2 separate regions of the Homo sapiens genome follow, and region 1 is linked to region 2. The links are contacts of gene promoters, found by promoter capture Hi-C in human tissues and cell types (Jung and others, 2019). All regions are on one chromosome and are shown on one strand. Each heading gives the region's core, a stretch centred on a gene start or on the middle of the fragment in contact. The rest is flanking DNA. Distances are from core to core; before and after follow the strand shown.

The links. The method cuts DNA at HindIII sites, captures the fragments that hold promoters and counts their contacts. A contact is called where the count stands out against the background at its distance.
Region 1: a contact is called between a fragment that was not itself captured here and the fragment with the promoter of DBX1 in region 2, in 2 of the 25 tissues and cell types used here (liver and mesendoderm cells).

Annotation. Positions count from the first base shown.
Region 1 is chr11:20,209,124-20,214,901 of GRCh38, reverse strand. No RefSeq gene overlaps it. Among named protein-coding and RNA genes, the nearest start is that of DBX1, 52 kb to the right of the region's middle. RefSeq lists a silencer at 1,301-1,531. The HindIII fragment of the contact is 7,499 bases long and covers 1-5,011 here.
Region 2 is chr11:20,159,180-20,164,728 of GRCh38, reverse strand. DBX1 (developing brain homeobox 1) reads left to right here and starts at 4,254. Exons shown (of 4, transcript NM_001029865.4): 1 at 4,254-4,771; 2 at 5,437-5,538. The coding sequence starts at 4,405. RefSeq lists enhancers at 1,247-1,748, 2,873-3,372, 3,373-3,874. The HindIII fragment of the contact is 9,910 bases long and covers 1-5,549 here.

The DNA.
Region 1 (5,778 bases), core at 13-2,512, 53 kb before region 2:
CCTATAGATTTCAAACTTGCAGCTTCCACAATCTCATGAGCCAATTTTTAAAAATAAATATCTTAACACACATATATGTGTATGTATATATATATAAATACATATGTATATGTATACATGTGTATCTATCTACATCTATATTTATAGCAATTGTCTAATCTAATCTATTTATCTAATTGGTCTGTTTCTCTGGAGTATCCTGACTGATGGTATCTGAGAGGTCTGCAGGGAGAAGGGACAGTTGGTGATGTCCATTCTGATGATGATAAATGCAGAGGATGAAAGTGCAGCTGAGTTTTTAGTTTTCATCTCAGAAAGAAGCAAGAACACTAGTTCATAGGCTTTGATTCCAAAATCCTGTAAGACTTAAAATCACTGCACTATGTTCAAGTTGACCACTTTTGTTACTTTCCCCGTTTCTGCACATTAGCAGTGATAAAACTGTTCAATGCCAAAGTATTATGTCTAGTTTCAGATGTGGCATAAAATGTGCAAAAGAGTGAGATGCACCTGACTGCAATTGTACTTAGGAAAGGGAGAATCTCAAAGGGAAGGGCTAGGGGCAGGACCCTAAGTCCCAAGAGCAGGCTGAGACCCCAAATCCATGGCCATCAGGAACAAAATATACTGGAAGGCACATTCCAGGCAAGGCCCTAAGGGTTAACAGCAGAAAGGCCTCTGATGTCTCCCCTTCCCTAAGAGTCCACAGTTTTTAGCACTGATTAGAGGGTATATAGAGATAATCCTCATGCCCAATACTGCTTTTCTCTTCTGTGCTGACTTATAGGATGGTAAGCATCTAGCAGCAAAAAAACTACAAACGAGGCTGGCAGGTGTACTCATGATACATGTATGCTTTCCCAGGCAGTCATTCTAAGAAAGCCTTTATCTGTCATGGCCAGCTCCAGCAGGTGATGCTTTCAGTTTCCACTAATTCAATTTGTGTAGAAATAAGCATAGCTCATTGGCTAAATCTGTCTTTCTCTTAGAGAGGAACTTGATATGGCTTGAAGTGGCCAGCTTAATTCTCATCTCCTATTACAGTCAGGAAGCTATATTTTTATTTGGTTAAAATTAAGAAATCTGATATCTGGAAAAGACCTTAGAACACATCAAGTTTAGCCTCTTCTTTTAATGGTAAGGACCTGGAAGTCCACAGAGAAACACACCCAAATAAGGCAACTGAGAAAATAAGTGGTGGGGATCAGAAATGACACAGTAAGATATCAATCCAGGGTGCTCAAGTGTGGGGTCAGGTGGAAGTGAGAATGCATGTTGAGGGTGATGACATGGATGTTCATCTGCCGGTAGGAATGGCATCCTGGTCATCTGGTCCAAACTCTCCCCCAAAACCCCTACACTATTTCCAATCTCTGCTTAAATACTTTTCAGGATGAAAGTCTCACAATTTTTTTTTTTTTTTTTTTTTGAAACACAGTCTTGCTCTGTTACCCAGGCTAGGGTGCAGTGGCACGATCTCAGCTCATTGCAACCTCTGCCTCCCGGGTTCAAGCGATTTTTCTACCTCAGCCTCCCGAGTAGCTGGGACTACAGGCGCAAGCCACCACGCCTGGCTAATTTTTGTATTTCTAGTAGAGACAGGGTTTCACCATATTGGCCAGGCTGGTCTCAAACTCCTGACCTCAGATGATACGCCCTCCTCGGACTCCCAAAGTGCTGGGATTACAGGCGTGAGTCACTGCACCGGGACCAGAAATGGTAAAAAGGCTAACGAAGGTCAAACAAGAGACAGAATCACGGGCAAAAGGGGCACATTAAGGGTTTTCTGGACGTCAGGAAGGGACTGCGGGGGCAGCTTTAGAAGGGGCCGGAGCCCGCCCCTGCACGCAGCTCACGCAGAAAGCGCCTGGACACTTCCTTAGGACCTTTTGCATTCTGGCCGCTCGACAAAAACACCCTTTTGAAAAGGTGGTATTCACTGGGCTGTCAGAATTGAGGAACACCAAATTAAGGCCAACAGAACCGTGTTGGGCTCAGAACTGAGCCTTGGTTTTAATCCTGATGCTTTGGATTAATACCAGGTGCTAATTAGTTGACCCAAGACAAAGGTTTGGATTATTTTCAGAAAGAATTAAATCTGTCTCCTTAAAATTTCTATCTATTGCCCCAGTGATTCTTACCTTGCCTGCACATTAGGCTCACCTGTGGAACTTTTTAAGTGTCCTGATAGGCAGGTTACACAGCTGGCCAATCAAATCAGAATTTCTGAGGGTAGAACCCAGGCATTTGCCTAAAGCTCCTCAGTGATCCTAATAGGGAGCCAAGATTGAAAACCACTGCATTTGGCTCCATTCTTGTATTAGTCTGCTGGGGGGTGCCATAATAAAATACCTTAGACTCAGTGGGTTAAACAACAGAAATTTATTTTCTCATAGTTCTAGGGGCTGGAAGTCCGAGAGATGAGTGCTGGCAAGTTTGGTTTCCCCTGAGGCCTCTCTCCTTGGCTTGCAGAGGGCCGCCTTCTTGCTGTGTCCTCACTTGGCCTTTGCTCTTTGGGCTTGCATCCCTGGTGTCTCTCCCTTTTCTTAGAAGAACACCAGTCACATTGAATTAGGGCCCCAGCCCTATGACTTCATTTAACTTTAGTTACCTCCTTAAAGACCCTTTCTCCAAATATAGTCACATTGGAAGTTATGGCTTCAACATATGAATTTTGGGAGGACACAAGTCAGTTCATAACAGTTCTGCTCATTGACTAGAACTGGTTGGGTCAGAGTACCTTACCCAATGTGCTGTGGCACCCACCGGTAGCATCATGTTAGGCTGTGAGGGTGGCCACTAGAGGCCCTGGGATAGCAACCTCTGGCTTTATGGGATCTACTCAAGCACCCAGTGAGTTGAGCATGGCCTGGATTTCTCCTTTCACAGTCAGCTGCAGGGCACCCACGGAGATACTAGAGGAATTTCAGGTGCCCAAAGAGCCCAGAGCTAGAGGGCGGGAGACCTCTGTAGAGAGCTACAGACCAAGGAGGCGGGAGCTAGAGACCACACAGGTGCATCTCCAGGTGGTGGTTTCTACCCTCTCCTTTCCCATATGTCAGATGACATATTGTAACAAATGAGCTGGTGTGTTAGGCAAGCAGACTCTGCAAATTAGAGTTTCATTATTTTGAAGTGCTTCGTATTTATGTGGCTAGAACAGTACCTGAACATAGTAATCTTCAATAAATATTTGTTGAATGAACACATAAATACAGTAAATGAAAACATTTGATTGGATTTGAAATTCATTTAAAATACCAAAGATTTTAGCACTAAAAGTTCTAAAATTTAACTGCAATTATTAAAATTTTTGAATGATGATAAAAATAGTTTAACTTATGTTTCCTGTGTGAATACAAGTTTTCACTGATTGTGTTTTTCAGGAATTTTAAGAGCTTATTGTTAAGTAGTCTTTGTTAGAATTGTATAAGCTATTTCAAGCTTAAAACCATTTTTTTTTCAAGTCTTGATCATTGAAGCAATGTTCCCCCTTGTTCCCAAGCAATATTCCCAAACAAGTTTCTCATCACATTTTTAAGAGATTTTATTTGAAATATATTTTTGACGTATTTACTTGTGTTACATATTTGAGATTTAAATCCTTCCTAATACTTTGTATTTGATTTTTCTTATAATCGTATCATATATAGAAAAACAGTGAAAAATTTCACCTTAGACATCTGCAAATCTCCTCTAGTTTATCCAGCTAAATCTTACAAATATTATCAATTAGTATATGTGTTATGACACGAAAATGGATAGAAAACAGTCTTCTACTTCTCTCAGTAAATGGCACCCCCATCTAAATTACTAAACCAAAAACCTGGGAGTCATCCTGATTTTTGTTCCTCCTGCTCTAAATCCCATCCTTTCAAAATTATCCCCACTGCCCACTCCTTTCCCTTTGACTAAGCCACAATTATCTCTTGCCTGGACTACTGCAAAAGACTCCTAACTGCTCTGCCATCTTCTGCATTTCTTGCCCTTCTACAATTTCTTCTTCTAATGACAGCCCGAGTGTCCTTTTAAAACCTTAAATAGATCAAGTAATGTCTCCCCAACTCTCTGAACTTTTTAAAACCACCCAAAGTCACTTCAAATAAAACCTAGGCTCCTTCCTATGGCCTAAGGGGCTCTACATGAGCTGGCTTTTGTCTTCCACTCCAGCCTTATCTACTGTTCTTCCATAGCATGTCATGCTCCAGGCACACTGGCCTTCTCTCTGATACCTGGGGAGAGAATACCCCAAACCAAAGACCAAGGCCAAGTGGAGATACCAAGCAAGCAAATAGATATACAGAGAGTCTAGGGTTCAGGGGGACACTGAGCTGGAGGTATAACTCTGGGTGTCTAGTAGAAACCTACAAGGCTGGAGGAGTGCACCCAGGAGGTGAAGCCTAAAAAGAACAGTACTCAAGACTGAGCCATGGGGCTCTCCAACATTTTGAGGTCAGGGAAATGAAAAGGCATCTGTTAATTAGCTCAAGTGACTCTTTCTATAATGTGTACATAGATCAAAACATCACACTGTACTCCATACACACATACAATTATTTATCAACTAAAAATAAATTTTAAATTTTAAAAAGGAATCTGTAAGGCTCAGAAGCAGCAACCAGTGGCATAGGAAAAAAATCAGATTTGGGGGCCTTCATAGCACTCTGAGAAGTTTGTTAAAAATATACATTTTTTCCCCATAATCTATCCACCGGAGTTTTGTTTCAGTATGAAGATGGACACCCAAAATTTGTTTGTTTGTTTGTTTTTTAAACAAGCTTAGTGTTGTTATCATAAGAGAAACCTGGGAAACGCTGCGTTAGAGCTTGGCCCAATCAGAAGAATCACCTGTGTGGGGCCTTGTTCAACCATGTACCTTCCAGGGACCATATCCCCCAAAACACTGAATCTGGATCCCCAGGGGACTTAGAGCTTGGCAGCTCATCATCCAAACTTCAAACTTATTATTCCTTCTTAGGACTTGTTCCAAAACAAGCCACATGGTTTTGCTTCGGAGCCGATGAATCAGTAGTTCTCGCTCCATTTACAAAGGCTGATATGCTATTTCTACCACTGGAGGTGCTTTCTCTAAAACCATGTGGAATTTATTTCAGTTCATGTATGGTATGTTAGGGTCTTGGCCAAGAGTCTTAAGTAGGAACTAGAATTACAATAAACAAACAAATGGGAATCTCTCATGTAGACCTAATGGTAAAACTAAGAGCTTGAGCTCTTCACCCAAGCTTCTCAGCTGATCTTGGCTTTCAAAAGCACAGGGAGTTATTTTCTCTGAGTCTCCGGAACCACATTTACTTTTCCCAAGTGTTCTGAATCTGATGATGCCAAAATGGTACTTAACAGCCTCTCTTACTGATGTCCCCACACTTCACTCAACCCAACCTGCAGACAGCTGGCTTTTCGGATTCTGCATTGAGGGTCTTTCTACATTTCCTTACTCTGGATGTTAACCATTCCCCCTTCCATTTGCTCAAAATGGGAAACTTTTTGCCCTTTCTGACAGAAATCATTCCTTTTTGGCCACCTGATGGGTACTTGGGGTTAATTAGAAAATCCCCATCAAGAGTTCAGAGGCCAATATCAGCTGTCAAAATCCCACATTCCCCTCTTTCCTCTCTTTCAAGTGCAAAACAACCTGTGTCTGAAGATGTGCCGGAGATAAAAGGGCACACACCAGCGCAGGGGGCTTTAGCCCAGCCCTATTCACGGCCCCACCACCATGAATACAACAAAATCTCAATGAAAGTTTTAATCTCCCCA
Region 2 (5,549 bases), core at 3,005-5,504:
CCAAGAAGGGAGTTGAAGTAAACTTTCTCCAAGTCCGCACTGCAAGCCCTGCACCGCTCTACAGAGATCCCCTTTATTCGGGTTAAAAAATAATAATAAAAAAAAAGAAAAAGAAAACACCAAAAAAACCCACACACACAAAAAAACAACACACAGTTAACCACCTGTCAGGGCTGAGGATACAATGAGACTCCTCGAAAAAGAGCTTTTCATGCATGCGTAATATATTTGTTCAGCTATTCACTTAATGAAGCTGATAAATGTGATGCAAGACAATAGTCAAGTTAATCTATTTAGTAAAATGTTTTGAGACTTTCAGGCTACGTTAAGGAGGGGAGCGTCCGGTGACATTTTCATTTAAATGCGCTCATCTCCTCTCTTAGGCAGCACAAGGGGGTTCGGGCAATCTATGTGAATATAATTTCTTATAAATGTGTCTTTAATGGGTTTAATTCACCCTTGCCAGCTGTTTTGGGGGCTATTTTGTAAGAGCAAAACAAACGTTTCGGGCTTGGAAAGCTAGTTAAAATTTGTTTCGGTCAGCGAGGCCAAGCTATATTTCCTGCAAACCATCTGCTTGATTGGCACAATAGAAGGATTTTCAAGGAAAAAGAGGGGAGTGAGTGTGAAAGGGATGGGGGGTGAGGGGGGAGACACTAGAAAGAGCTGGGGCAGCGGTAGCTCCTAGTGGCCTATTCTGAAGGTGAACCCCTTAGAGCTGTCTTAAAAGAGAGGCTTGCGAAGAGGGGCTGGGGCGGTAGGAAAGCTCTTTCAGTCCGAGCCTCGCAGCCCTCCTCCTTCGCCTCGCCCGTTAGCTCCCTGCCCCCCCTCCCCACACCCCCCACCCCAAAGCCAGGCGTCGGGCGCTTTTCCCTGTCGCCGCCCGGCATCCGGCCAATCTTTCCAAAATGCGCTCTCACTCTGTTGGCTGCTCCGGCAGGGAGCATGGAGGACTGGGGGTCCGAAGCCTGCAAAGGGTGACCTTAGCGTTGCAGCCTTCCCGAAACGGAGACTTGCCATCTTTTCAGAGGGCGGGGAAGCTCACACCACTCTCTGCTTTATAGTGTCCGTTTCGCCTCGCTTGCTGGCCCTTCGCTTACCCGAGACATTCCAGGCACGGCTCGCACTGGAGAGGGCCGCGCTGCTGCTGCGACCGCACGGCGCCCGGGGCAGGAACATGCTCGCTCTCCCCTGCGCGGGGGGAACGAAACCCCCAGAGTGCGTTCCGACACGCTCTTTCTACTATCCAAGGCAGGTTTCGGCAGCTTTGGCCACCTAGGCCCGGGGAGCCCCAGCCGGATCTGCTGCGGCCTCCCCCGCAGCGTAGGCAAGGACCTTAAACCCCAAACCAGGGACTCCGATTCTCTCTTTTCCCCTCCCGTCTTCTTTTCTCTTGAAAGAGAAATAGACAGAAAGCTCAGCCTTGAGACAAAGAACGCGAGTGATTTCTCCGAAATAAACTTGAAGATAACGACATAACAGTGAATGGCAGGACGCACAAAACCCCATGGGCTCAGGTCAAATGGCATTAGTCACAGGTCTTAGCCGCAGCCGCCGCGCCGCGCAGCTCCTTGGGCTATCGCGGAGTTTGAAAAGACGCGTTCAAGGAGATCACTTAAAGTAAGATCCTTTCGTCCGATTTCTTGCTTCCTTAGGATTTATTTTTCCTTTCACGGGCGGCCAGCCCTCGCCCCCTCGCCCCCGCCCTCACTTTTCCTCTTTGGCGCTTTAGGAATTCTTTAGGAGGCTGTGGAGACCGACCCCAGGAAGCAGGGTCCACGTGGATCGCAGCAAGGGGTTGATCCACCCTCCAAAAAATGGCAGGGTAGACTTTTAAAAGCCGAGAAGTTAGTAGCAGTTAGTCTATAGTGAGGCAGAATGGCTGGGGCTTGGGGTGGGGGCTAGGGGTGGCATGAAGCCTGTCGACGGACAGGAAACGGTGAAAACTACACCCCGGCAAATGCCCCAACAGGGAAGGAGGAGCTGGGAAGGGCTCACGCTGGCTTCAAGTTCTTACCGTTCCCCCCTCCAAAAAAAAACAAAATCCAAGTTGATTTTGGCAAATATAGACTCTATTCTGATCATCCGGAAGACTTGGACAAGCGCTTCACCGGTAGGGAATCAAACATCCTGAAGCCCCCGGCGCGTCCTTCTGGGAACTGGCAATTGCCCAAGTCCTTAAGACTCGGGGAGAAAAAGGGGTGGGGGGCAGAGGGAAAGGGAGTGGGAGAAGGAGGGAGGTGGGCCTGAGGAAAAAAGTAAGGGAGAGGAAGGGAGAGAGCCAGTCTTATTGCAATGGGAAACTGTCTCATGGCAAGGTTAAAGTGCAGGTGTTCAGATAGCTTATGCTTTTCTCACCTATTTTATTGCAAACTTCAAAAAGGAACTTTTGACGTTCTTCGACAGATCTCCTTCTTCCGTTTCCAGGGGACTCCAATTAACTCCAGCAAGGCGCTTCCCATATTTAAATAGCCCCTTATTTAAAAGTTGTTTCTTTCCTGATTGGTTTTCTCCCGCTGCCCATGAGCATGAGCGGTCTTGGGCTCAGAAACTCCGCACTTACGTCATCTTCTAGCATTAATTCGCCTCTGGAGCTGGGCCCTAAATAACTTTTTAATTTGAATCAAGGGAGAGTTTTAGCCGGCTCCGTTTCTGGTTTAATGTGATATAAATCGCAGATGCACTTTTATTGAATGGTTAAAGCAGCGACATGGAGATCATCAACACAAAACACCCCGAACAAAACCATCGAGAGAAATAAAGCTGGTTAATAAGATTTTTGAGAAAGCTTTGTGTTAAAAAGCAAAAAGGAAAACCAGCTGAAGGTGACAGTTAGTTCATGGTTAATAGGATCAGGGCGGCCTGGCGGGGCTGCACACTTCTCTTTGGGGAGGTTCAGCCACACTAAAGAGATGAATGGGACATTTAACACATCTGTTATCTCGCCGAACAGAGAAATGGGGGGAATCGAGTCTTAGTACCACCTCAGCCCCAACCAGAGGAAAGCGAAGGGACTGTCTCCAGGAAGATTCTCCTTTGAAGCCCCACATTCAGGGGAGGCTTTCCCGGAGTGGACCAACATTCTTGGGAACCGCATCCCTTCCCTCTGGTTTTCACGCGTTTGTGCGTTGTAGTTAATTAAGAAGCTGCCAAACCTTGGGCCAAGTTAAGGGCCCCGCAAGTGGTAGGGTTCTCTCCAGACGACGTCTGGACCTTCGCTGCTATGGCTTAAAATGTCAGGGCTGTGAGTTTCAACTTAAACTGCCGAGAGCTCCCTGTGTTTGGAGAACGGCCAGCATAGCACTCACAGCCTTTGGATACCCTTGCCCGAGGCAGTTTCCGGTCAGCCTAAGCTCTTTGCAAGCGGAATCCTGCCGCTCGGCAGCCCAGCGCCGCTCTCCTCCGCTCCTCCCGCAAGGTGAGGTGCGGACAGCCCCTTGCAGAAACTCCTAGAGAAAATCGTTTTCCAAGTTGCTGGGAATTTGAAGGAGACTCGTTTTACTTTTCAGGTATCCACCAACGCTCAAACTCAACCAGTCTCCCGAAATGAAATAACTCCAGACCTCTCCCCACTCTTACGGACACACATCCAGTGGCCCCAAAGCATCCGTTTCCAAGTTTCCCTGAGTCGTCAGAATGGGACTTCTAACACTGATTTCACTCACCCCTACATTTGCTTTATGCTTCAGCTGGAGTAACGGATAGGGCTAGAGACCGGAAAGGGAGTATATTTTCATGTCCACTGACTTGAAACTTTTCATTGCCCTACCCCCACAAGAGGGAGGGCAACTTTGCTGATAGCCTGAAGATGTATTTCTATGAATATTTATTGATTTATTTTCCAGGCTTAGCAGGGGAGCTGCAAATAAATTTAGTGGGTTCTTTAAATAATTCCTTTTCTATGAGGCAAGATGTCATCTGAAACTTCTAAATAGGCATTTAATTAGCCCGGGTGTTGCTTCGGAACAAAAACCTTTGGCGAGAGCTTTGGGGGCGCACTGTATTGCAAAGAGGCGGTCGATATGCAAAATTGATGCGCGCGGGCCTTTGTTGCCGGCCCATTGTGCGGGCCATGCTTATGAAGACTAATCCAATCATAAATTGCACCCCTGCGCCAATCAGAGAGTCCAGAGCCTCCGGCGAATGAAGCTCGAGTGGAGAACTTTGTTGAACTTCATTGTCAGAGCTGTCACTTTTCAAAGTGCTTTAGCGGGCGGGCCACTATAAAACCATCACCTCGACGAGAGGACCACGGAGGACTCGCAGACGCCCAAGTGGGATTGTTACTTGGAGACGTTTGCTAAGCCCAAGAGAGAGGACACTGTGGGGGCGGGAGGGGCGGGAAGCGAGGCGTTTACCCTCCGGCCACTGAAAGAAGGGTTATTTCGCCCGCCCGCGCCTACCATGATGTTCCCCGGCCTCCTCGCGCCCCCCGCCGGGTACCCTAGCCTCCTGCGGCCCACGCCCACCTTGACGCTGCCCCAGTCCTTGCAGTCGGCATTTTCCGGCCACTCCAGCTTCCTGGTGGAGGATCTGATCCGCATCAGCCGACCCCCCGCCTACCTGCCCCGCAGCGTGCCCACCGCCAGCATGTCGCCGCCCAGGCAGGGGGCCCCCACGGCCCTCACCGACACGGGGGCCTCGGACCTGGGCTCCCCGGGTCCCGGCAGCCGACGGGGCGGCTCTCCGCCGACTGCCTTCTCCCCTGCCAGCGAGACGACGTTTCTGAAGTTTGGAGTGAACGCCATCCTCTCCTCGGGGCCCAGAACAGGTAAGCGAGGTCAGAACCCTAAGGGCCCATTCAGGTACTAGGCATGCGCGGAGTCATCCTGGCCTCAGTTTCCTCTAGCGAGCGGGCCCCCACACACACATCGGTGCACACACAATACGCACGAACTCTGAGACCCTACGTCAGGCAATGTGAGAATAGTCCAGTCAATTCCGGGGAAGAAAAGCCTCCAGGCTCGCCCCATCCTCGGAGTGAACTTGAGCACACGCAGTCGGAGACTGTGCGCAGTCATCTGGTGCAGTAACGCTGAGCGCACGCTCCTGGACGTCTGCGTTTCTGCCTTCGAGCTTCTAGGAGACAGTTTTTTTTTTTAAACTCAATATGATATATTTATTGGATTAGCAAATATTATAAATCTGCAATTTCTTTCCTCCCCACTCAGTCCTATCTCGTTAGTGCCTAGGATGGAGATTGGGGTAGAGTGGGACGGCGCAGAGAATTACGTTGGGGAGAAAGAAAAGAGTTTTACAGATAAGACAATGTTGGGAAGATTTATTTTACCCTGTCAACGTATAAGAAAGATGTCTTTGAAACCAGATGAAGGGCTAATTATATCGTGTGTTCAGTGTGCTATACAATAGGCAAGTACGTAATCAGATTCTTTCTGTCTCCCTCTCTCCTTCTGTCCCCCCTCCATCGCCCACCAGAAACATCCCCAGCCTTGCTCCAGAGCGTCCCTCCCAAGACCTTCGCCTTTCCCTACTTCGAAGGGTCTTTTCAGCCTTTCATCAGATCTTCTTATTTCCCAGGTAGGTCTCGT